Linked DNA regions of Homo sapiens: all the other regions are linked to region 2. The links are contacts of gene promoters, found by promoter capture Hi-C in blood cells and fetal thymus (Javierre and others, 2016). All regions are on one chromosome and are shown on one strand. Each heading gives the region's core, a stretch centred on a gene start or on the middle of the fragment in contact. The rest is flanking DNA. Distances are from core to core; before and after follow the strand shown.

Region 1 (3,957 bases), core at 769-3,268, 740 kb before region 2:
TATATTCCACATGATTTGAATTAAATTTTATCTTCTGTAAAGGGCCTATCACAGCACGATTAGGAGTAAGAGACTGTGGAACCTATCTTGAGATACACAGAAGGGAGGCTGAATCGTGCCCAATATTACTGTCTGCCTGTGTTCCCCTAACCTTCCAAAATGTTCACACAAAGTAAGCAGATAAACATTGTTTCTGACTTTGAAGCTTTCAGGCTAAATTGAAGAGCTATAAATGTAAATCAGCAATTGTACCCAAAGTGTTGCTTGATTTTCTATTTGGCTCTGTGGTAGGGCCCATCGCGTATAATTCCTCGTGAAAGCGCTGGGTAACAGAAAGCTTTGGGCGGGTTAAAAGACCTCAGCTGTGGCCGACTTTGCCTGTGTCACTCTATGCGAGTGGGCAGAGCACTGAATGTCTGTTGGCCTTGCTATCATTCTCTGATTCCCAGGAGTGAATTGACGCTCAAATGGAAAGTAAAAATGGATGTTAAGATAAATGGGAGATTGAAACACAGAATCATCAAAACCAGGAAAAAGAGCTGCAGGAAGTAGTGTGCAAGGAGGGGTTTAAAAAACGCAGCCAGAGATCCTCGGGATTCTCAGCGTCGCTTTCCTGTTAGTTTGAGGTTCGAATACAGTATTTGCGTCGTCTCACATACAACAAATAGGTGTCTGCCTGCACGTTGCCAACGTGACTCTTGGAAGAAAAGCGAGAAGCAGCAAAACCGAGCAAGGGAGTTGGCTAAACGGCTGCAAGAAACACACACACACACACACACACACACACACACACGGAAGAAAAGCGAGAAACAGCAAAACCGAGCAAGAGAGTTGGCTAAACGGCTGCAAGAAACACACACACACACACACACACACGGAAGAAAAGTGAGAAACAGCAAAACCGAGCAAGGGAGTTGGCTAACTGGCTGCAAGAAACTCTCTATCTCACTCTCTCTCTCTCTCTCTGTGCTGCAAGAAACTCTCTCTCTCTCTCTCTCTCTCTCTCTCTCGGAAGAAAAGCGAGTAACAGCAACACCGAGCAAGGGAGTTGGCTAAACGGCTGCAAGAAACACACACACACACACACACACACCACACACGCACACACACACCCCAGCAGTCATGAAAGAAGGAGAGGAAAGTTCTTTGTTGAAACTCCGGGTTCGAAACACACACACACACACACACACACACACACACACACACACACACACACACACGAAACTCCGGGTTCAAAGCTATGGGCCCCACCCCGCTCAGGACTGCCTGCTACGAGGCCGCGCAGAGATGCCCCAGGCGCGGAGAGAAGCGGAGCACAGCCGTGCTAGGGACAGGGGCGCCACCCTGGGCGGGACTGAGGTGGGATCCTGGCTCCCGGCTTTGGCCTCCCAGCCCAGGCTCGGGGCTTCCTGGCCCTCGGAGGCCGGGGCGGGCCAGGCTTTGCAGCACAGGGCGAATCTCCCTCCCTCCCCGGGCGCCCCCCGGGAACTGGCGGCCAGAGGTTAAGCTGACATGTTTGCAGACGGTAATGGGGCGCTGGATGCCAACAGCCCCAGCTCAGGGGAGTCCAGATTTATGTTTCTTGGAACAATTCTTTCCTCCATTGCATTAACGCCAAAAAAAAAAAAAAAAAAAAAAAAACACTTAATCAAGCCCAGAGTCTACTACTAAAGTCTTGTTAATTTATTAACCCAAGCCGAGGCTGAGAGCTCGACGTGGCACTTAAGAAGTAAAATGAGGAAAGGAGGAAGAAACGGGGTCCCTGTGGGCCTCGGGGCAGCCTCGGCCGGGCTTTCTCGGAGGGCAGGGCCAGGGGCGCTGGGGCCGCTCCCGCGTGGCGCGGCTCGGGAGCGTTCCAGGGCGCGGTCCCTGCGGGCCGGCGGGCCGGGGTGAGTCACCCCTGACTTGGGGTGGGAGCGGGCCGTGTAAGGGGGAGGCGGGGCGGGGCGGGGCGGGCCTCGCCTCGCCTAGGGAGGATGTGGCGGGTATAAAAGCCCCACCCAGGCCAGCCGGCTCTGCTCAGCATTTGGGGACGCTCTCAGCTCTCGGCGCACGGCCCAGGTAAGCGGGGCGCGCCCTGCCCGCCCGCGATGGGCCGCCAGCTAGCGGGGTGTGGAGACGCTGGGAAGAAGGGTACGGCCTGGCAGGGAGGCCCCGGCAACTGGCCCCGGAGGCCGTCGGGGGCAGGGGGCTGAAGGGACGGCCGGCACTGGAGAGTCTTTGGGGAGGGGGCTCAGGGACAAGGTGTTTGGGGCAGGGGTGAGGGGCCACCGGCCCTCGGGCCGGGAGGGTGCAGGGCAGAGGTGGTGGGGGGTCGGGCTTCTCTAAGAAGCCCTAGCGGGAGCGGGGCGAGGCGGCGTGGGGAGAGGGGCGGAGGGAGGCCCCGCATTCCAGACGCGCCAGGCGCCGCCGAGGCAGGGCGTGGCCGCCCAGGGAGCCGCAGGTCCCCGGCGCAGCAGTAGCAAGTGGGCTTTCCACTGCCCTCTAGAAAGTGCCCCCCATCTGCTCTAAGTTACTGTACTCGAAACAAACGCGCGCTTGTGGAGTTGAACCGACCAGCAGGAGGGAAGTAGCGGGGGAAGACGAGAGGGGGGAGTGTGAGTAGGCACCCCTCAGCCCCCCATAAAAGAAGACATTAAAACGTCAGTTATTCCCCTTGCTCTAGGTTATCTTGTAGCATAGCAACTTCGGATTTCACTCTACCCGGAGAGTTTCCCGCTTGGTTGAACACATTGGCCTCAGGAAGGTAGTGTCCCCCATGATTCTGTGGGGAGGGTTGTCCTGTTACTCGCCATGATGTGACAATGAGTCAGGAACTGAGAGTAGAGAGAAGGGCGTGGCCCCGGGGCCTCTCCCTTCTGGCCGCTCTGTGCAGCTGGCCCCACTGCTGGTGTGGAGGGCTTGGGTTCCATCAGCCGGCTGTTGAGAAGAAGGAGGGGAACACAGATAAGTTTCCTCATCTGGGAAGGTGGCTTAAGGATGCCTATTCTTACCACCACCCAGAGTTATTGGAGATTTCAAAAAACACAGTCATTAGGTAATAAATGTGTAAAGTACACAAAAAACAAAGTGCTGTGCAAATGCAAAGTGTCATTTTTGTAGTAAGATTGCCGTTTTAAAGCTGTGGGTGTTCTGAGTGCGTGTGTAAAAGAGCAGTGGCCTCATGGGTGCACGCTGGGCCATTACCAAGAACCTTAAGTTGTTGGTGTGCAAAGGCCTGGGCCCCAGACTGTACTGATGGATTCTGTTCACACGTGTGTGCTACTGTGCCTGTCTGGAACTTGGTGACTTGGAATGCAGAATGCACTTTCCCACTGAAACAGTGTTGCAGAAGGTGCTGACGTTCCCAGGCTAGCCCTGAAAGACCTTTTTAACATGCACTGCCTGATTATGGGATTGGTGGTGGGGAGGTGGAGGGTAGTGAGGGGCAATGTGTGTGTAGGAAGACTAAATCACTGAAATATTTTTCTGGAACTTTTTTTAGCTTTAAGGTTGACACTGAGTAAATTATTTTAATTGGAAAATTATGTCTTTGCCCCTGTTCCACTTTCTTTTTTCCACCTTCCACCTCCTTAGAGACGCTCTTCTGGCTCTTCCGTGACGCATTACAACAGCCATCCAGGCCGGTCCAGTTACGCTGCATTCCTTCCTCCTTCCCATTTCGGCGGACCTGCATCCAGCTAGAGACTAGCAGATTGAATCGATATTCATTAAGTTAGGAATGGTTGGTGGTCCTAAGAGCCTCAGCAACCGAGAGGAGTCTTGTTATTTAAAAAACAACGATACTGGGCGTGGTCGTGGGCCTGTAGTCCCAGCTGCTCAAGCTAGTGGATCTCTTGAGTCCAAGGCCAATGTGAGCAACATAGCAAGACCCAGTCTCAAAAAATAAATACATAATAATAATAAAAAACCCTCGTTCACCTAAACAGATCTATAATTTATAGAATGTAAAGCAGC
Region 2 (3,577 bases), core at 609-3,108:
CTCTTAAGATGATGTTGCCCAGCCGAGTACTGTCAGAAATTCAGTTCTGATGTCTGTGTGTGCAAGATATTAATGTGGTCCCTGTAAGAAATACCAGAGTTGGTCATGATTTACTAAGGAGATGTAATATTTTCTTTGACCTGTTAGGAATATAACTTGTGTCTTGATTTGTTGCACATCATATTTTTTGCAACATTAATGAATTTAAATAAATTAATTGGAACGTTCGTCTTTGTCTTTTTATCACATTTTTCTTTCATTATGCTACTAAATTTTTGCTTTGAATTATCCTATAAACCTCTTAAATAATTTCAGACCTTTACACTTGTTTCCCTTTCTATAGTCTAAGTGCTTCTATTCTTTGGGGATTAGAGAGTTCAGCCTGCTTTATTTTAACATCAAAACAATAATGAAACTTTGTGTTTCATAGTTGAGATTTTTTTTTAATTAATGGGGAATCCAAGGATGAAACCATGAGTGGCTTAAAATGAAAACATGGCTTTTTTTTTTTTTTTTTTTTTTTGAGACAGTTTCGCTCTTGTTGCCCAGGCTGGAGTGCAATGGCGCCATCTTGGCTCACCGCAACCTCCGCCTCCCAGGTTCAAGCAATTCTCCTGCCTCCGCCTCCCGAGTAGCTGGGATTACAGGCATGCACCAACACGCCCAGCGAAATTTTTTTTGTATTTTAGTAGAGACGGGGTTTCTCCACGTTGAGGCTGGTCTCGAATTCCTGACCTCAGGTGATTCGCTCACCTCGGCCTCCCAAAGTGCTGGGATTACAGGCATGAGCCACCGCCCCTGGCCGAAAACATGGCTTAAATAAGAAGAACTTGTTTAGTTCATAGACCTGCTCAGAGGTTCCAGCTGATACCACTTGGTGTTTTTTGTGGTTTTGTTGTTGTTGTTTTGCACATACTCTTTAATCACTATTCAGCTATTTTGTAGGATAAACTGCTCTACACATGACTGCTGGGTTTAAGCCAGTTAGTGTACCATGCACCCTGACACCTAAAACAATTTGTGATTTTGCAAACTTGAAATTTATAGTGAAGTATTTATCTTGCATATTAGATGCAAATTTTAAATATAACTTCTCCCAAATTAAAGTTCTTCATGAACTGGTCACAAACTAAAAACTTTGCCTGCAGCCCTGTTTCGAGGGGTAAAGAAGATACCCTGCTTACCCTGCTATAATTTTTTTTTTTTTTTTTTTTTTTGAGACGGAGTTTCGCTCTTGTTTCCCAGGCTGGAGTGCAATGGCGCGATCTCAGCTGACTGCAACCTCCGCCTCCCAGGTACAAGCCATTCTCCTGTCTCAGCCTCCCAAGTAGCTCGAATTACAGGCATGCGCCACCACGCCTGCCTAATTTTTTGTATTTAGTAGAGACAGGATTTCACCATATTATGCTGGTCGCGAACTCCTGACCTCCGGTGATCGACCCGCCTCAGCCTCCCAAAGTGCTGGGATTAAGGCGTGCGCCACCGCGCCCGGCCCCTGCTATAATCTTTTCAGAATTCGTCTGCAAGGTCTTCAACACTGTTACCCTGAACACACTTCCGGCATGAAATATGAATGCCCTACATTTCTTAAATTGTGCATCTAACAATGGAGAAGATTAGTCTCTAAAAATTATAATTCCCTTAGGAACGATTTAGTAAACCTGGTGAATTACTCGAGCAGAGCGCCTGTCCACCACTTTAAGGCTTCAAGCTCCAGCCCGACGCCCCTCCTTCCCTCTCCACGCCCTTCCCTGACAAGGCTTGAGTGGCGGGCGAGAGCAGGGCTGGGCGGGGCCTCCCGTCCCTCGGGCGGGGTGTCACTTCCAGGTTCCGCGAGCACTTCCGGGTCGTCAGCTCAGTTCTGCGGTTTCTGCGGCGGCTGGAGAGGTGGTCGGAGAAGTAGGAACCTCCTGCCGGGCTCGTGGCGGCTTCTGTCCGCTCCGCGGAGGGAAGCGCCTTCCCCACAGGTAGTGGGTTAGGGAGGGCAGGGTTAGGGAGGGAAGCAGGGCCGCGCTCCCTGCCGCCCCCCCGGAGTCGGAGTGCGTTGGTGGGGTAGTCTCTGAGGGCCCTTCGCTCCTGGGATCTGCCCGTTACCGACCGTTGCCGGCAAGGCCCCGCGGCCGGCACCGGAGAAGGGCGGCGAGGCGGCGGTGATGGTCGCGTCCCGTGGCGGGAGGCTCGTCGTTCACGGGGCGCCCACAGAACCCACCTAGGGGAGGTCTTCAGCCCACCACCGTATTTTCAGCCAGGTGAATGTCTTAAAGCATCCACTAGCGCCCTGTGAGTTTTGCCGAATTTCGGAGAGCATTTTTTAAATGTCTCATTCCTGTGCTTTGTAGCTTGTTGTTTGAAGTCTGCCTTCCAACTTTCTTCGTGCGAACTCCGACAAAAGGAACGAATTTTAAACTTGGTGGTTTAATCAAAAAATGCTAGGACGAGTTACTTCCGAATTTGACTTCTAATTTTCTGAACTGCAAAACAAGAAGGGAACAATAAATTTCTGTGGCTGATACCACATCTAAAAGATTAGAACACTTAACAAGGAATTTTTAAAGAATGTAAGAACATTGAAATCAGCACTTTTAACAAACGTTTAACGCAGGGCTATTTTCTAGATAAACTCAAAAATTTGTCAAATGGGACACGATGCACGATTCTGTATTCCTACTCTGTGGAGTTTTTATCTACCTATTGGGACTTCTTGCCCTTTTTAACCCCCTCTCCCCTCCCACACGCATATTATACTTACTGATATTTGCCTTCGTTTACTGAACAGATTTTTTTTTGGCTCCTATTGTGTGCCAGGTACTGTTCTAGACGCCTATTTTACTTAAGTGAACAAAATAAAAAGCTTTGCCCTCATGGAGCTTACATTCTATTAGAGGATGCAGAAAATAAAATATATAATGGTGTTAGAAAGTGATGGTGCCATCAAAAAAAAAAAGAGAAATATAAAGGAGTACGGGAAAGTTCCAGAGTGGAGGTGGGAACTGGTATTTTAAAGATGACGGTGGTCAGTTTGAGCCTCATTTAGTAGGTGTTATTTGAGCAAAGACTTGAAGGAATTAAGAAAATTTGCTAAGTAAATATCAGGAAGAGCATTCAGGCAGATAGGAAAGCCAATACAAATGCTTTTAGGCCTGTCATGTTTGAGGAATAGCAAGGAAGCCAGTGTATCTGGAGAGGGATGAGCAAGAGTTTTGGGGGTGGAGGGACAAGAAGATAAAGTCAAAGAGATCATGGTAGCCGGATCATTGTAAAGGCTGATAGAAGCCATGGGAGATTTTGAATAGAGGAGAGGTATGTTGTAACTGAAGTTTTAGAAGATCACCCTGGCTGTGAGTTGTGATTAGAGTGTAGGGGTGAGTGTAGAAGCAGGGAAATCATTTAGGAGATTTTTGCAGTAATCCAGATGACGAGAGTGGCCCAGGTCAGGGTGATAACCGTAGGGATGGTGAGAAGTGGTTGGATTCTGAATGCATTTTGAAGGTAGGCCTTACAGTATTTGCTAGGAATTGGATATGGAGAGTGAGATAGAGGGAGTGGAGGATGAAATCAAAGGTTTTGCCCAAGCTCG
Region 3 (3,712 bases), core at 8-2,507, 760 kb after region 2:
GGGGATGCATTTTTAAGTCCGCTTTTTTATATGTGATTGGTTCTTTACTCATTATAGAAAAGTGTTAACACTCATCAATAAAATACTAGAAACTTTCTCTAAAGACATTCAGGGTGGGCCTATGATAGGGATATTTTGGTTCAAATCCAATTTATTTGCTTTTATTAATTGTGCCATTACTTCATTGATGAGATTGTGTTTTGGCTACATATTTGAGGGGAGGAAATAAATATAAAAAGGTTAAATTGCTTTTTGGCACTTTAAATTGTTCCCCTGAATATTTACTAAGATGGGTAACGTAGATGGTGATCACAAGAATATGAAATAGGCTGGCTGCAGTGGCTCATGCTTGTAATCCCAGCACTGTGGGAGGCCGAGGTAGGCCGATCACCTGAGGTCAGGCCTTTGAGACCAGCCTGGCCAACATGGCAAAACCCTATCTGTACTAAAAATACAAAACTTAGCAGGGCATGGTGGTGCATGCCTGTAATCCCAGCTACTTGAGAGGCTGAAGGAGGGGAATTGCTTGAACCCAGAAGGCAGAGGTTGCAGTGAGCTGAGATCACACCACTGCACTCCAGCCTGCGTGACAGAGTGTGACTCCATCTCAAAAAAAAAAAAAAAAACATGAGACAGAATAAGATACACCCTGAATTAATATATAGTTTCAGTTGTGAAGTTTCATGTATTTAGAAGTCTGTGTACTTGGAACGTTGTAAAACTCTCTAAAGTACAGTCTGATTTTATAGGTTCTGAGTGCAAAAGTAGTTACAAATGCTCGAAGTCCTGGGGCAAAATGCTATGGCATTGTAACTATGTCTTCAAGCACAGAGGTGTCCAGGTGTATTGCACATCTTCATCGCACTGAGCTGCATGGACAGCTGATTTCTGTTGAAAAAGTAAGCTTCCCTAACTGTTTATCAAAGCAAGTCTAATTTGATGGCTAGTTCTCAACTCATAGCTGTTAACAGTAGCAGGGAGTAGAATTTGCAGTGATTTTTAATTTTTATGTATTTGTAGTTTTTACTCTCCTTATATTTTTCCTATCGTTTCCAAATTTTCTGCCATTAGCACACTTCTTATAATCACAAAAATGTAACCATATGTACAAATTGTTTTTCTGGTTCGAACCTTTCAGGTAAAAGGTGATCCCTCTAAGAAAGAAATGAAGAAAGAAAATGATGAAAAGAGTAGTTCAAGAAGTTCTGGAGATAAAAAAAATACGAGTGATAGAAGTAGCAAGTAAGGATTTATTTTTATTTATTTATTTTGATAAGCAGATAGACTTTTTTGGTACATTATGAAGTACTCATTCTGTTTTTTTGTCTGGGGCGGTATGGTCAGGACACAAGCCTCTGTCAAAAAAGAAGAGAAAAGATCGTCTGAGAAATCTGAAAAAAAAGAAAGCAAGGATACTAAGAAAATAGAAGGTAAAGATGAGAAGAATGATAATGGAGCAAGTGGCCAAACATCAGAATCGATTAAAAAAAGTGAAGAAAAGAAGCGAATAAGTATGCTATACATCTTTTCAATCCCTTTCTAATGCATTCTACTACTTAATTTTTACAGTGGAAGGGAAAACCTGAAATTCTAATCCAGATATAAGCTTTGTTGTTAGGTGTCATTGTGGTAGGAAAGGAGGTCTAGTAGGAGTAATTGTCTTCTTTTCTACTCTGGGGAAACAAACAAATGTATTCTTCCAGCTAAGCTCCTTTGCTATTCTGGGCTGACTTAAAATGGTCATTGATTAGTACTATTGAATTAGGATCTTTTGGTATCACTGAAAGTATTTATGTTAGCAGACTGAACTGTTTAAAAAACTCTTTGCATTGAAGTTCTTGTAGAATAAGTAGTTTTTTTATTTCATGTATTGGTGTGTGACTATCAGAATTTAGCATTTTTACATACATATTTTCTTTCTCAATGAAAAATTTTAGACATTGTTTTATATAATTTTTTTCCCTTAGGTTCCAAGAGTCCAGGACATATGGTAATACTAGACCAAACTAAAGGAGATCATTGTAGACCATCAAGAAGAGGAAGATATGAGAAAGTAAGTCTCTGATCAGGATGGTTGTATACTACTTCAGCTGTTTACAAAAGAAGATAATTCTGTTTTTCCATAACCATCTTTGCGTACTTGCATGCTAGCAAACCCAAGAAAAAGGAAATGTTACTAGTCATTTGAACTTTTTAAATGACCTACTAAACTTGAAAAATAAAGCCCCAAAATATTTTAATTTCTAGTGTTCTTCTAATTTTTTTCTACAGATTCATGGAAGAAGTAAGGAAAAGGAGAGAGCTAGTCTAGATAAAAAAAGAGATAAAGACTACAGAAGGAAAGAGATCTTGCCTTTTGAAAAGATGAAGGAACAAAGGTTGAGAGAACATTTAGTTCGTTTTGAAAGGCTGCGACGAGCAATGGAACTTCGAAGGTAGGAAGAGAGTCTGTTTTATACCTGTCTTTAAATATAGGTAAATATTTAACACTAGTTGTAAGCCATATTTCTGGAAATTGTATTCCCACAGAAAACTGTTTGCCACCTTAAAGAAGTTACGGTAGCATCTAATGATTTCTTAAGTTTGCATAGCACTTTACAATTTACAAAGTGCTTTTCCATCTGTTGTCTCCAACTCAACAGTTCTGTAAGGCTAGTTATGCCCATTATACAATTGAAAAAAATGGAGGCCCAGAGAGGCTAAATGACTCTTCCAATGGCCACATGGCTAACAAGTGGCAGAGTCGGGACTCAGACCCAAGTCTTCTGACTCCAAGTCCAATGCTCTTTCCTCAACACCAAAGCTGCTGCCATAAAAAACATGACTTCAAAGGAAAAATTTGAGATAAGATAGTTTCAAAGTAGCTACAGTGTTCAAATACTGTAATCTGAAATTTTAACAAATTTAGCAAAAATTTATTGTTTGCATTAGTGCCTAAGAGAAGGAAGATTTGCCCTGTGAGCCTAATGGTATTCGGATTATATCCCAAAGCAAGCATTCTCTTTAAAACAAACGGAAAATATAAACAAAGCAAGATGTTTCCATTTTTAGTGGCCATATCTCAACAGTTCACGAGTGTCAGTTTACTTTTGTATATCAATTTTTGGATGCCACTTAAAATAGTCTTGTGGGTGTGTTTTATAGTATATTATTTCAAATGTTAAGCTGTCTTGTCCAGGGGTTACTTATCATGGGATTTCATCCATTCATTGACGACAGCGTTAGGAACTACCAGAGATACTTTTAGCAACTTAGATTATTCTGTACAATAATTGACACACAACTTTACTAAAAGGAAGTAATCCTTGTAGCACATAGAACCCATTTTCTCTTTTTTAAGATGAAGTCCAAATGTGCCTAGCTTCCTGTGTATTTAGTTGACAACAGATTGAGAGGAGAGTGGGATTGAGGAGCAACTAGACCAGTGATTCTCAAACCCTATGTGACCAAATTCCCTTTTATATTAAAAAAAGTTGCAATGCCTTTACTCTCCTGAAATGAAATTGATGTATAACATACTTAAGCTATACTAACAATTTCAAAAAAAGAAAAAAATGTAATGGCTTAACTATAATATAAAGGAGAAATAAAAGTAATTTATAATAAAAATATGTATTCCAGATATGAAGGTTTAGGCATGACTTAATGAAGTAGTCAGATGTTTGCATCCCTATTTAGACTCACTGAGAATGGGACAGCTTCAAATACAGAC
Region 4 (3,490 bases), core at 798-3,297, 730 kb after region 2:
CCGGAGTCAAGACCGTGCTCATCTCCCGACTCAAGCAGGTGAGGCCCGGCGAGGACCGGAAAGGACCGGGAAGGGGAACTTAGGCCGCGCCTCGGCGCCCCGCTTCCGCCGCAGCCTCCGGCTGCCCGCAGCCGCTGGGACCTGCGGAACGGCATGGTAGGGAGGCCAGGGGCGGCTCCCGCGAGCGTGGAGGACGGGGACCCTTCCGCGGTGCCCCCGCCCCGCGCCCCGGGCCGGGCCGGGCCTGCGAGGGACCGGCCACCGCAGCCCAGCGTGCCTCCGCCTCCCCGGGACGTCCCCGCCAGGCTGCGAGGGTTGCGGCCGGCCGGCGCGGCCTCCCAAGGGCGATCGCGGAGACCTGGGAGGCGCTGGCTCCCCAGCCTTTAGCCATGGTGAGCGTGTGCATTTCTTGGCCTCAGAGGGAATGGTTACTTTGGTGACTTCTGCGAAGTTACCGTTTAATTGTGCCCAACCGTTTCTTCCCCATCTTGAGGGGGAATTGGTAGTGGGAGTTGATGGGTGGGTGACAGAGTTTTTGTTTTCCACTAGGCTTTTAGTTTTTGCATCAGCGCAATAATTACTTTTTCTTTCCTGATTAGCTTTCTGGTTTGAGTGAGCGTTGGAATTGTAGCAGAGGAGCAGTAAGTTTGCATTACAGAAACTAGGAAAACTCTTTTTAGTTATTTACTTTAGTAGCTAGCAACTTTTCTGCAATAGAACATATTTGGATTTTTGGCCAGTATGATGTGATATTTAATTATCTTGACACGGTAGAATTTAAAACTCCTTGCGATTTTGATACCTAATGATTTTTTTCCCCTGAAAGTTTCTCTCACTCTTTCGTGTAGTTTAATTGCTCATTTTTGAAGTCGGTTGATGAAATGACTGGCAATTCTAATGTCTTGAGGCTTGAGGTTTGCTAAATTTTTTTTCATTTCGTTTTTATAAAATAAGTTTAGATAGATTGTGTAGCATATTAACTTCTCTTTCTAATGTAGGCTATTGAAGAGGAAGGAGGCGATCCAGATAATATTGAATTAACTGTTTCAACTGATACTCCAAACAAGAAACCAACTAAAGGCAAAGGTTGTTACGAGTTATGAACATGTTTTAAAATATATTTTGGTTATATAACTTGCCTCTGCTCTTGTGCCTCTTGCCCTGTTTATATAGTGCTACTCTTTGCTATTTCCCTCTGGCAGTCTGCCTTCTTGGGTCAAGGAAGAAAAGTTACTGTTGCCAGGCTTTGGGTGACTTGTAGCCCTTAAGATTCGGCTGAAGCTGATTAGAAAGTGAGAACAGTTCTTTATTGCTTCCGGAAAAAATTACAAAGTCAAGTTGTGTAATGATGCTTCATAGTGTGAAGACCTGAATAAAATACAGTTTAACACATGTCTACCTTGCCCCACAATTGGCAGAGTTTTGATGGAATTCCTACCAAATCTTTTACCTTGCCTCCTTGCTGTTTTCTTTAGTATATTAAAATTCTATAACCTTTATGTTTAGTACTTTGTTTGACTTGGTGAACTTAATTTGCATTTATGCCATTATACCTCCTAATTTTTAGTGAAATTCAAAAAGACCTCACCAATCATACTAACAAGGTAGAGGGAAAAATCCATGATTAATTAGCTTAAAAAAGTTTTAAATTATAGGGATGTTAAAGATTCTTATTTTTAACTTTTAAGCTAGAGCAAAATATATTTATTTCTAGGATATAATGATTTAGTGACTAGCTAAAAGTGGTTTTAAATGAACGTTTTGCAGTATGAATGGAACTTAGGTATTTTTTAAAGCTTCTTGGTAAATGAAACCTTTATTTGAATAACTGCAAATTTCTCCCTCCTATAAGGACAGTGGCAGAGGGTGGACATGATATATCTGGATTCTGGTCTTTACCTACAATTTTCATGCAGAGTTTGTCATGAACAGCTGCTGCATTTTTTGTAATCTAATTTTCTTTACTGCTTTAAGTGATCCAAGTGTTACTCCCAACCACTGAATGATTGCAACTAAAATAAAATGAATGGATTAATATTGAAAAGGGAATATTAAATTTTGATCTTAAGCACACCTGGGTATCAGAGATGAGGACAACTCACTATTTTAAGTCTTCCTAGGTTAGGAGAGTCCCCTGTTTGTGCCAAAGGAAATTGAAAAGGGCTAATAAGCATTCCCTGGGAGAGGTGGGGATGTAGTTTAGAGAAGTAAAAAAGTTATCTTAAAGGTAGCTTTTAAGATAACTCTGACTCAGTGTATCACTTTGAGAGATACATTTTCTGTATTTAAAGAAGCTTGTCATGAGAAGACTGCCAACAAACCAGAGGCTATTTCAAAATGGAAAACGATAGAAATTCAGAAATAAGTATATCAGGAATTAACCATGTGTCTTGCAGTAGTTTTGATTCATATCTTTTACCTAGCATGCTGTGCTAGTTTGACAGGTACTGTGTATTAATCATAGTCCCAGGTTGTTTGAGTTGACTATTATTTTAGCATTGAAAATAAACATGATTTATTCCTTTCTCACCTACTTTTAATTTCTCTGTATATCCCTTTTTCAGTTTTGACTAGGAACATCATTTATCTCTTATTATTAGAAATAATTTCAGCAATATAAAATTTTAAGGGTTTTTTCAATACATTTTATGACAGGTATATATATCTATATATATGATATATAGATTATATATAGGTGTATATATATCATATATGATATATATATATATTTTTTAATAGGGTATTGCTCTGTTGCCCAGGCTAGAGTGCAGTGGTGCCTAGCTCTTTGCAGCCTCAAACTCCTGGGCTTAAGTGATCCCTCCCACCTTAGCCTCCCTGGTAGCTGGGACTACAGGCATGTGCCACCACAACATTTTAAATAAGTAAACATTATTTATTTTTATCAGTATGTTTGCTAATTTTTTTCTTTGTATGGGTTATACTTGAACTTTATTCCATAACTCTGATGTTAAGAGGTCTTAAGGTATTCAGTTAGAAGTTGTAACATTTGGGGGCCGGGTGCAGTGGCTCACGCCTGTAATCCCAGCAGTTTGAGAGGCTGAGGCGGGTGGATCACCTGCGGTCGGGAATTCGAGAGCAGCCTGGCCAACATGGCCAAACCCCATCTCTACTAAAAATACAAAAAAAAAAAAAAAAAAAATAGCTGGGCATGGTGGCGCGCGTGCCTGTAGTCCCAGCTACTCGGGAGGCTGGGGAGGCTGAGACAGGAGAATCGCTTGAACCCAGGAGGTGGAGGTTGCAGTGAGCTAAGGTCACTCCACTGCAGTCCAGCATGAGACCCCATCTCAAAAAAAAAAGAAGTTGTAACATTCAATCATTTGTTTGTAGCAGGCCTCATTCTAAGAGATGCATGACAAAAAGCTCTAGTCTTCTTGAAATCCGGCTATCATTGTTATGAAAATCTTGTGAATTACAAAGAATATAATGTAAATCTCCAACTCCAAACAGTTTGAATTAATTTACAATAAAG
Region 5 (3,429 bases), core at 176-2,675, 780 kb before region 2:
TTTTGGTTAATCAGTATTTTGTTTTCATGTTTTATGAGAGTATTAAGTAGATAATTGATTCTTTCTGCTTAACTCAAAAAAGGAAGTAGCTAAATGCACTAATTGGTGATGTACTGCCTGCCTCCTCCTCCTTCATACACATACTCGAAGTTTTTGTAGTAATTTTCATTCTGTAACCAAAATTTCAATGTTCCTCCAAAGACCTCACACCAACAATCTCAACATTAGCTACTTGAATGCAATTTGCCAGCCACATCCATTTTAGAAAAGGCCCAGTTAAAAACTTACGAGTGAAATTTTGTTTAAAGTACTGACAGAGAATGGAGATTCATGACAAAAAAAAAAATTAAGGTTTCAGTTTTTAAATGTACAGTTCAACATCAACTGTATGGATTACTTCATTTTAATTATTTTGTAAAATCCTAAGTAATCCTAACTGCTGATTATTCTCTGTGAATCCTATCCTCTTGTGAGCCTTTCATTTCATTGTACTGGGATAGTATTTTTGGCTTCTGTGACAAGTGTTTGGTGAAAAGCATATATTGTATGGTTGTGGGATTTTGGTTTGTTCGGGGTTTTTTGGTGGGGTGTAGGTATGGGGGGATAACATCTGAGTTTTTGAGTTTTTAAAAATGTTATAATACTCTTTTAATTTAAGGAAGATGTTCAAGAAAATCACTTGAAGTGCTTTTAAAAGTGGAGATTGCTGGCCCCACCCTGGAGTGTCTGATTCACTAGGTCTGTATTGGGACCTAAGACTTTCTCAGGTCGTACTGATGCTGCTAGTTTAGGGACCACACTTTGAGAATCAATTCTATAGCTTATAGTCTCTTTTTTCAGTAGAATCAACACACTTGTGATTTGTTTGTTTGCTCTGCTTTGCTATAAACATGTTCCCCACTTTCCCTAGTTGCAGTACTCTTTTTATCTTTTCCCCATAAAAACTTGAAGATTTACTCCTTTAAGACAGTTTCCCACATAGTCTCATTGCAACTTCCGTATTCACCCTCCAACCCTATAATATTTATCAATTCTATATAGTTGATATATAGGCAGTCCTCACTTAGCACACAGTTTCAATAAGCACAAGTTTTAGTTATGACCGTGTATTAACAGTGAGTAATTGTATAAAGTATAAGCTTCACTGCTGGCTCTTCAGTCCACAGATCACTACATAAGTAACAGGCAAATCATGATCAGTGACCAGTCATGTCACTTCTTTCAAAGTCTGTTTATAATTGTTTATTGTGTACCCATTGAGTTCATGCACAGAAAGCAGAGTGTGCAGTTGTGTTGACTCTTTGTCTCCCGGTGATAAACCCATGTGATATTTTACCAAAGTAGATAATCAAAAGAATTGACCAAAAAATATTAAAGCAAAGCAAAGAAACAAAAGGTGATACTGCCAGAAGTGAAATTTGAATGGAACATAAATGGAATTACAGAGGAAATAGCAAAGAGTGGGAATGTTGGCACTGCTGTTGTTCCAGTGACTCTAGATTTGCTGCCAGACAAACTTAGTGAAAGCATTGTGACATAAAGGATGAACAAGTGACACTGGCATAAGATTTTACAGTAAACAAATCCTGAAGATAATTTCATGACATTGAAGGCACCAAGGATACAGTGTCAGAAGCTGATCCTTAGGAATATAACGGTTCACCATGGCATAGAAAAGATGTATCCGGCCAGGTACGGTGCCTCAAGCTTCTAATCCCAGCACTTTGGGAGGCCGAGGTGGGTGGATCATTTGAGGTCAGGAGTTCAAGACCAGCCTGGCCAACATGGTGAAACCCTGTCTCTACTTAAAATGTAAAAAATTAGCTGGGCAGTAGTCGCATGCGCCTGTAGTCCCAGCTACTCAGGAGACTGAGGCAGGAGAATCGCAAGAGCCTGGGAGGCGGAGGTTGCAGTGAGCCAAGATCGCAGCACTGCACTCCAACCTGGCCGACAGAGTGAGACCCTGTCTCAAAAAAAAGAAAAAAAAGAAAAAGAAAAGATGCATCCTTCCTATGACAAATTGTGCAAGAAGGTAACAAGCACTGTTCAAACTGCTCTTCATTAACGTTTCATGAAGAAAACACTTTAATTTTTTGGATTACAGTGTACTAAAATATTTTACTGTTCTTTTCGTTTTCCTATACATTTATGATTGATAGAGAATTTATAGTGTTTTGATAAAAATTTTAAAGGTAACCAAACAGTTGTAATTTTCCCTATTGATTGTTACAATTGTAGGGTTTCAGCCTGTATAGGCATTTTTATGGTCCTCACACTGCATGCAAAGCAAGGAGTACCTACCTATACACATATGAATGCATGTATGCATGTATATGTTTATGTGCATATATATATGAATGAACGCTTGTATATAAAAGCTTTATTTTTATTATGTATAGATTTTATTTGTCCTCTATAAATCAGTGCTTTCCAACCTTGATGCACATAAATATTTGTACAGCACACTGTGATATATAAGAGAGATTGCTTGTGGCTGAAGGGCAATAGCCAGGAAGCTTTTGCCATCCCAAGCATTGCTGAGCTGCCTGAAGGGCTGAGGTGATGAGTATCTTAAGCACATATATATCTTATTTGAGGCCCACAGGTTAGAAAGCTCCAATGTTGAGAGAGTTGTGAACTCCTTGAGTAGGTAGATCCTCAGAGCACTTAGTATGGTATTCTCTGTATAGTTATTTTTGACAGACCATATTTGACATATACTATAAAACTTTTTTAAATGAATTTCTTTCAAAAGGTAAGAACTATTAGTCTTCTCAAAGACATAATTAGTAAACATCTAAAAGTTATTATGCTTAGTATTTCCTTTCTATGGTTTTTAAATCATTACGATATGTCTTTGTTATTAGAAATGCCACTGTGTAATGAGTGTTACATATAATAAGTAGGTATGGGTACAAATGAATTTGGTGTCTTAGAAGGAAGCCATCTGGTAAAAATGTTTCTAATTATTTGTATGAGCATAAAGCAAATGAAAGGGGGCTTGGTAAGAAAATGAAACATTAAATTATGTGCATTTTTAATTGTCCCAGTGATTGACATCAGCTTTCCAGGTAATTTGTTTTGATACCTAAATATTAGGAGTTAAAAAAATAAAAACAATTTGTCTTCAACATTGATACGTCTTATATTCTCATCATGCTAGTTGATGTTTTTAACTATGGTACAATACATACGATTTTTGTGTTGACTTATATAACATTTAACCCAGGACTCTTTTATGTCACTCTTCCTTGGTATATTTCAGGACCTTGGTGTTAGCTCTCAACCTGTTTTGTTTTAGAACATACGCATTACTTGTTATAACAAAAGCATCATATTGAGAATTTGCTGTTTTGTTTTTTGGAATTCTAGATTCATATTGTGTTTGTGAAAAAAGTAAGAATCGGAGCCGGGTGCCGTTACTCACAC
Region 6 (3,665 bases), core at 500-2,999, 720 kb before region 2:
GTGTGTTTAGTAGTGTATTTGCAGAGTTGTGCAGTCATCACCACAGTAACTTCCCTAACACTCATTTTAACATCCATTCACCTTAAATGTGTCAGTTGCATCAAGAAATAGAAATGGGATGGTATATGCTATGTGATCACAACCACAACCATTTTTTTTTTCTTTTTGAGGCGGAGTCTCACTCTGTTGCCCAGGCTGGGGTGCAGTGGCATGATCTTGACTCACTGCAACCTCTGCCTCCTGGCAGAACCCTCCTGGGTTCAAGCAATTCTCCTGTTTCAGCCTCTTGAGTAGCTGGGACCACAGGCATGCACCACCACACCTGGCTAATTTTTGTATTTTTAGTAGAGACAGGGTTTAACCATGTTGGCCAGGCTCGTCTCGCACTCCTGACCTCATGTGATCCACCTGTCTTGGCCTCCGAAAGTGCTGGGATTACAGGTGTGAAATCATAGGCCTGGCCTATGATTTCTTTTAATCAAAAAAGAAAAAATAAAAGGCATTAGCAATGGAAACAGACGTACGTCACTTCATGGTCCTTCCTTTACTGCACTGTGTAGATATTATGGTTTTTACAAATTGAAGATTTGTGGCAATGCTATTCACTTTGTCTCTGTGCCAGCATTTTTTAGAAATAAAAGTATTTTTTAAATTTAGTTATGTGTTTTTTAGACATAATGCTATTACACACTTAATATAATATAATCACACTTTTATATGCATTGGGAAACCAAATTGTGTGACTTGCATTATTGCTATATTTGCTTTATTGTGATGGTCTGGAACCGAACCAGTAGTATCTCCGAGGTATGCCTGTATATGGAATTGTGGGCAATTGCTCCTTTTCCTTTCTTGGGCTTTCAGTATATTCTGTATTTCTGTATTTTGCAAATTTTCTATGATGACTTGTATTACTTTCATAGTGGAAGGCAGTAAACTTAATTAAAAACAAAAATGAAGTCATTAGTTGGAAAGGATAACAACCCTTTTGTTCCTTCCTCCTTCTCCTTGATATTATTAGATACTGGATAACTAAAACCACTTAAAAATGAGCTAATTAAGATCTTACCTTCTTTTTTTAGAATGCCTTTTGCCTTAAGTGTAATTAAGAAGCTTACACCACACCTTGGCCCCACTCCCACCTCTAACCCTTCATCGGGAAGAGACAATACTAAGTAGTTGGTGTTTCCTTGACATCAAAGGACACGGTATAAACCTCAAGTATTGATAGAAACAAAAGCCAGAGGACCATGTGACGATGACTGGCCCTCTTTCTCTCCTAGACGGGGGTAGCCGTGTGTACACACGTGTGTGTGAGTGTGCCGGGACGCTACCCACTCCATGTAATGTTCCATTGATTTCCCTGTGGTCTGTGTGCTCTCAGGAAGAAGAGCTGGGAGCAGGCCACCTTGGAGGAGGCTTAATCAGCTGCTGTCGAGTACACGGATGGTGCACAGGAGCAGGCCTGGAGTGGGATGATGGCGAGGAGGGTAGAGCTGGTCAGAGACCTGTTTGGGGGCACTGCTTGCCATGGCCAGGGCATGGCTGCAGGAGTCACGAAGGCTGTTCTCACAGACGAACTGTCAGTCACACCTGCTCTTCTTGGTGTGAGCTAAAGCTCCTCACTTGCAGCCCTCTGTTAGAGGAGAGAGGCTACTTTTCCCAGCCAGTCTGCCTCCTGGCACCCTCGAGAGAATATATTCCTAATTGCTGTGCTCAACTGAATGAATATACCTCCAGGTGTGCAGACAAAACCAAAAATACCTGTCCTGGCTCACTTTCCAGTGCTTGGGAGGCAGCTCTTATTCACCCCTTCCCCTAACTCTTGTCACCCCTCTCCTGTGAGCTGTTATGGCATCTGTCGTCGTCGTCTTCTTTTTTTTTTTTTGAGACAGAGTTTTGCTCTTGTTGCCCAGGCTGGAGTGCAATGCACAATGTCGGCTCACTGCAACCTCGCCTCCCGGGTTCAAGCGATTCTCCTACCTCAGCCTCCCGAGTAGCTGGGATTACAGGCATGTGCCACCATGCCCGGCTAATTTTTTTTTGCATTTTTAGTAGAGATGGTGTTTCTCCATGTTGGTCAGGCTGGTCTTGAGCTCCTGACCTCAGGTGATCCGCCTGCCTCAGCCTCCCAAAGTGCTGGGATTACGGGTGTGAGCCACTGCGCCTGGCCTATGGCATCTGTCTTCTAAGGGACCTCCCTGCTTCAGCCTTTACAGAGTATCTTTCTAGCCTCGTCTCTGGCTCTGTTCACGGCCCTCTACAGAGCATGCCTCTGCCTTTGTTCTTTGAGGAGCGTGTAGCCTCCTTCCTCCCCACCTCAAACATCTGCGCAGTTCCCATTTACCTCTCAGCCTGGGCCAGTGCACAGCATCAACAAGCTTTCTCTGAGAAGGCAGAACCAGCTATTTCTTGGTCTGTGTTCTCATCATACTCTACATACTCGTTTATTGTGCTTATGAGAAGGGGGGAGAAGCACAATACTGCTAAAATCAAAATAAGTCTGCTTTGTTTCTAGTTTGAAGGGATCTCAGTATTTTTTGCCTGTGCTGCCTAAACCAAATGCAGGATTGTTTTATGTATGCTCCGTCCTGAGGTAGACTATGCAACGACTTACCTTAATTTATGTCTGGTTAGAAACTGAGTACAGTCATGCAAAAGTAGTAATACTGCTTAATTAACAAGAGGTTGCTGAGACTTAATCTGTAGGAGTCTCTTGGTTTAGATTGGCCTTGGGTTAAATATATACGATGGCGTGTACAACACAGCTGTGAATGGTTTACCATATGGGTCCAAATAACTAGAAAGGAGAGTCAGCTAAATTAGAAAAGGATGAATCGAGACTCCAGAAAATAGACTGTAATTAGCAGCAGCACAACCCCAGAGTTAGTGTAAGTGCCAATAAACTGGTACAGCTTTGGTCTCTCTCTGGAAGGGGAGGGTAATGAATTACCCTATTATTATTGCCAGTTTTGATTTTAGCAGTATTTGTGTTCTCCGGAAGGGATGCAAAAGTGGGTGATTTTTCTCCCCCCTTTCTCAGAAGCGCAAGTATAGAAGCATAACTGCACGAAGTTTTGCACTTATTTTTTTCTTATACTTTTAAAATAGAACTGCTTAAGATTTCTGTGGCCAAAAGACTAACATCCCATGCCACTGCAGAACAAGCCAGGATGGATATTTTTGGTTTCACCTGCACGCCAGGTATATTCATTTGGCTGAGCAGAACAATTAGAAATATATTCTCTTGAGGGCGCCAAGAGGCAGACTGGCTGGGAAAAGTAGCCTCTCTCCTCTAACGGAGGGCTGCAAGTGAGGAGCTAAACCAACAAGAGCAGGTCTGAGTGTGAGCTCTTCTGTGACTCACGTAGCCCAGGGCCTTCTCACCCTCCTGGAAGGGAACGGGAGGGAACGGACCCTTCCCAGTTGCTGAGGCCTTTCTCTCTGTGTTCAAGTTTACTTTAGACTGACTTCTCATCTTACAGCAGTGCTGGGAACAAAGAGGCCAGTGCTGAGTCACAGCCACCCTGTGACTCTGCCAGCACAGATTTTCTTTGTAGTGATATTTGTCTATGTATCTATGTAGGTGCCAGACCTGAGCCACGTAGCTATCAAACACTGGAAAAGGAGTCCTTGGTGCCTTTCTAATTGTAAGCATCAGCTTT
Region 7 (3,578 bases), core at 738-3,237, 820 kb before region 2:
TGTATGATTTCATTAAATGAAATGTCCAGAAAAGGCAAACCTATAGAGACAGAAAGTAGATTAATGGTTGCCTGGGGCTGGAAAGAGGGACTGATTACAAATGGGCACACAGGATTTGGGGGTTAATGGAAATGTTCCAAAACTTTATCATGTTGAGGGTTGTGAAACTTCACACATTTACTAAAAGTCACCTAATGGTACAATTAGAATGAATGAATTTTATGGTATGTAGCTTATAACTCAAGCTATTTAAAACACAGATACACAAACATATACACACACAGATTCCCCATAATGCAGAGAATAAAGTCCAAAATCTCTAGCATGGCAATGAAGACCATCTCTAGTCCGCTTCACCATTTCCAGTCCAACAACCTTCATTTCCCCAACACAGCGATGCAACAGCTTTTCCTCTTCCCCAGAATATGTGGAGCTGTTCACACTTCTGTGATTTTTTTTCCCACAGTTAAAACCCACAACCCCTTTTCTACCCAGTGAACTCCTACACATCCTTCAAGACCCAAAATAAATTAAACTCCTCTGAAGTAATCTCTAAATTATCTCCATCAGAATGAATTTCTTACTCATTTGTGGTCCCATGGAATCTTCTATATATATATGTATACCATTTCCTTTTTTTTTTTTTTTTGAGACTGATTTCACTCTTGTTGCCCAGGCTGGAGTGCAATGGCGCAATCTCGGCTCAGTGCAACCAATGCCTCCCGGGTTCAAGCGATTCTCCTGCCTCAGCCTCCCAAGTAGCTGGGATTACAGGCATGCACCACCACGTCAGACTAATTTTGTATTTTTAGTAGACACGGGGTTTCTCCATGTTGGTCAGGCTGGTCTCGAACTCCCAACCTCAGGTGATCCACCCACCTCAGCCTCCCAAAGTGCTGGGATTACAGGCGTGAGGCACCGCGGCCGGCCCACCATTTCTTCTTTGCATTATAGGTCTTTGTACAGTGCCATCTCCACTGTGTTTTGTTCATCTTTGATTTTTCTTTCAGAAAAATTATATACTAATAGCTAGTATTTGTTGAACATTTACTCTTTGCAATGCACTTTATATATATATTACTTCTAGTCCTCACAACAATTCTGTAGGTGAGGTATCACTGCCTCCATTATCCAGATGAAGAAACTGAGACTCAAGAGGACACACGACATGCCTAGGATCACAGTGCCAGTAGACAGAAAAACTGAGATGCCAACCTGAGACAGATAACTACTGGAATCCAGAAGTCCATGTTCTTGCCACTAAGCTTCTTGTGGTTCACAAAACAGAAAAGAAAGGATGCATATATTTATTGTATTTTATGTTACTCCGCTGGGGCTGCTATGACAATTCCATAGCCTGGGAGGCTTAAACAAGAGACATTTATTTTCTTACAGTTCTGGAGGCTTGGAAGTCCAGATCCAGCTGCCAGCCAATTTGGTTCCTGGTGAGAACTCTGTTTCTAGCTTGCAGATGGCTACCTTTTTGCTGTGTCTTCACTTGGGGGAGAGAATGAGCTGTGGTTTCTCTTCTTCTGACAAGGGCATGAACTCCATCATTGGGGCTGCACCCTTGTGTCTTAATCTAAACCTACTTACCTCCTAAAGATACCACCTCCAAATACCATTAGGATTCCTTGTAGTAAACAAAAATTATAGGAGGCCATTAGGCTCCTATAATATGACATATGAATTACATATTCATATAAGATATGAATTTTGGGAAGATGCACAATGCACACGTTGGCAAGAATTATGAGACCTGAGTTTTAGTATCAGTTTTATCATTGATCATGTGATGTTGGAAAAGTCACTTGACAATCTTGAAACGAGCCCATTTCCTTGTAAGGAAAACAAGAGGGTTGGACTAGATAATCTCCAAATCGTGTTCTGATTCTAAAAATTCTGATTCTGTGTGCTATCTTGCAACCATTGAAACTCAGATATACCAGTTCAGAGCATACTGTTTGGTGATGATCTGAAATCTCAACACAGAGCTGTATGGTAATGCTACCATATCACACTACCATGGGCAGGTACCTCCCAGCAGCATGAGCTCTTAAACAATTAGAGCAGTTCCTTCAGGCCAGGTCAGGTGTCCCCAACTCTTCCTGACTGCATGCTTTGTGAGACAGTACCCAACACATGAACTTTTACGCTGCCTTTGTCCTACACAAGCCATCCACATCACTTACCTAATAAGAAATACTATCTGCAGCCAGGCATGGTGGCTCACGCCTGTAATCCCAGCATTTTGGGAGGCCGAGGTGGGCGGATCACGAGATCAGGAGTTCAAGACCAGCCTAACCAACATGGTGAAACCCTGTCTCTACTAAAAATACAAAAATTAGCCGGGCGTGGTGGTATGCACCTGTTATCCCAGCTACTCAGGAGGCTGAGGCAGGAGAATCGCTTGAACCCGAGAGGCAGAGGTTGCAGTGAGCCAAGATCGCCCCACTATACTCCAGCCTGGGCGACAGAGGGAGACTCCATCTCAAAAAAAAAAAAAAAAAGAAAAGAAAAGAAAAAAGAAAAAGAAAAAAAGAAATGCTATCTGCACAGTGCCAGGCATTGTAGTGGTTGATTTTTTTAAGCATTCACAAACACTGTCTCCTAACTGGCCTCCTCCCTTCAATGAATTCCGTAGGTTGCCAGGTGAACTTTCCTGAAGCACAGCCAGCCAGTTCTGATTGTGTCATTATGTAAGCTTTTTTGTTTGTTTGTTTCCTAGCATTTTATTTCTTATGCAATAAAGTCAAACTTCCTTAGTCTGGCTTATAAAATCTTACGTGTTCTAGCTTCAACCAGTTTTTCCAACCCCTTTTCCTCTACTACTCTTCAGAGACCTTGCATTCCAGGCAAAATAAACTACCTATGGTTTCCTGTAGCATATTTTTTACATTAACATAATTTCTAACAATATTCTAAATCAGTCTAAAATGTCAGCCAGGGGTAGTGGCTCACACCTGTAATCCCAGCACTTAGGGAGGCCAAGGTGGGCAGATCACTTGAGGTCAAGAGTTAAAGATCACCCTGGCAAACCCCATCTCTACTAAAAAAAAAATACAAAAATTAGCCAAGTGTGGTGGCATGCACTTGTAGTCCCAGCTACTAGGGAGACTGACGCAGGAGAATCGCTTGAACCCAGGTGGCAGAAGTTGCAGTGAGCTGAGATCACACCACTGCACTCCAGTCTGGGAGACTCTGTCTTAAAATAAAATGTAGAACATGCTTCCCTAATAGCACACACTAGATTCTGTTTATGCAATAAGTTTATGCAGTTCCTTGTATTAAAAAAAATTATAGGAGGCCATTGTTTAGAACTTCTGCACTAGACCCCAAGAGACCAGACTAAAATAAAAATGGTATCACTCAGGCTCACCACACCGAAACTGAGTTATGTGGCCCTCCAAGAAATCAGGAGACAGAGGTAACAGGCCAGTTTCAATTTTCAATCAGCAAGATAATGAATTTCCTCTGTTTTAGTCCCTACAGCAAAGAGTAACTTGAAGTAACCTGATGTTAACCAATCAGTTATCTTTCTATTGTACTGTCTGTCTCCACCTTACCAGGAAAGTAAC

The links. Contacts are between HindIII fragments. The CHiCAGO score rates a contact against its expected background, and 5 or more counts as called.
Region 1: a contact is called between the fragment with the promoter of ANXA2 here and the fragment with the promoter of GTF2A2 in region 2, in 1 of 17 cell types (monocytes). The highest score is 9.1, in monocytes.
Region 3: a fragment that was not itself captured here is called in contact with the fragment with the promoter of GTF2A2 in region 2 in 5 of 17 cell types (monocytes, total B cells, M0 macrophages and 2 more); the score reaches 8.9 in monocytes.
Region 4: a contact is called between a fragment that was not itself captured here and the fragment with the promoter of GTF2A2 in region 2, in 8 of 17 cell types (erythroblasts, neutrophils, total B cells and 5 more). The highest score is 9.4, in erythroblasts.
Region 5: a contact is called between a fragment that was not itself captured here and the fragment with the promoter of GTF2A2 in region 2, in 1 of 17 cell types (M2 macrophages). The highest score is 6.3, in M2 macrophages.
Region 6: a fragment that was not itself captured here is called in contact with the fragment with the promoter of GTF2A2 in region 2 in 1 of 17 cell types (M2 macrophages); the score reaches 5.8 in M2 macrophages.
Region 7: a contact is called between a fragment that was not itself captured here and the fragment with the promoter of GTF2A2 in region 2, in 5 of 17 cell types (non-activated CD4 T cells, naive B cells, megakaryocytes and 2 more). The highest score is 6.9, in non-activated CD4 T cells.

What each region holds. Positions count from the first base shown.
Region 1 is chr15:60,396,047-60,400,003 of GRCh38, reverse strand. ANXA2 (annexin A2) reads left to right here and starts at 2,018. Exons shown (of 13, transcript NM_004039.3): 1 at 2,018-2,061. RefSeq lists silencers at 1,286-1,595, 1,716-2,255, 2,326-2,465 and enhancers at 2,626-2,815, 2,836-2,885, 2,946-2,995, 2,489-3,080, 3,081-3,672. The HindIII fragment of the contact is 5,260 bases long and covers 340-3,957 here.
Region 2 is chr15:59,655,796-59,659,372 of GRCh38, reverse strand. It overlaps GTF2A2 (general transcription factor IIA subunit 2), which reads left to right and starts at 1,858. Exons shown (of 5, transcript NM_004492.3): 1 at 1,858-1,967. It overlaps BNIP2 (BCL2 interacting protein 2), which reads left to right. Exons shown (of 10, transcript NM_004330.4): 10 at 1-227. RefSeq lists an enhancer at 1,822-2,051. The HindIII fragment of the contact is 4,994 bases long and covers 1-2,853 here.
Region 3 is chr15:58,891,620-58,895,331 of GRCh38, reverse strand. It overlaps SLTM (SAFB like transcription modulator), which reads left to right. Exons shown (of 21, transcript NM_024755.4): 10 at 750-899; 11 at 1,139-1,242; 12 at 1,345-1,511; 13 at 1,968-2,053; 14 at 2,272-2,435. Among named protein-coding and RNA genes, the nearest start is that of SLTM, 40 kb to the left of the region's middle. The HindIII fragment of the contact is 702 bases long and covers 907-1,608 here.
Region 4 is chr15:58,929,952-58,933,441 of GRCh38, reverse strand. It overlaps SLTM (SAFB like transcription modulator), which reads left to right. Exons shown (of 21, transcript NM_024755.4): 1 at 1-38; 2 at 999-1,086. Among named protein-coding and RNA genes, the nearest start is that of SLTM, 2.0 kb to the left of the region's middle. RefSeq lists an enhancer at 1-96 and a silencer at 147-406. The HindIII fragment of the contact is 498 bases long and covers 1,799-2,296 here.
Region 5 is chr15:60,437,940-60,441,368 of GRCh38, reverse strand. All of the region lies in intron 12 of ICE2 (interactor of little elongation complex ELL subunit 2), which reads left to right. Among named protein-coding and RNA genes, the nearest start is that of ICE2, 39 kb to the left of the region's middle. The HindIII fragment of the contact is 568 bases long and covers 1,142-1,709 here.
Region 6 is chr15:60,374,604-60,378,268 of GRCh38, reverse strand. The region is part of intron 3 of ANXA2 (annexin A2); the gene reads left to right. Among named protein-coding and RNA genes, the nearest start is that of ANXA2, 22 kb to the left of the region's middle. The HindIII fragment of the contact is 1,268 bases long and covers 1,116-2,383 here.
Region 7 is chr15:60,480,162-60,483,739 of GRCh38, reverse strand. The region is part of intron 1 of RORA-AS1 (RORA antisense RNA 1); the gene reads right to left. Among named protein-coding and RNA genes, the nearest start is that of RORA-AS1, 2.8 kb to the right of the region's middle. The HindIII fragment of the contact is 1,439 bases long and covers 1,268-2,706 here.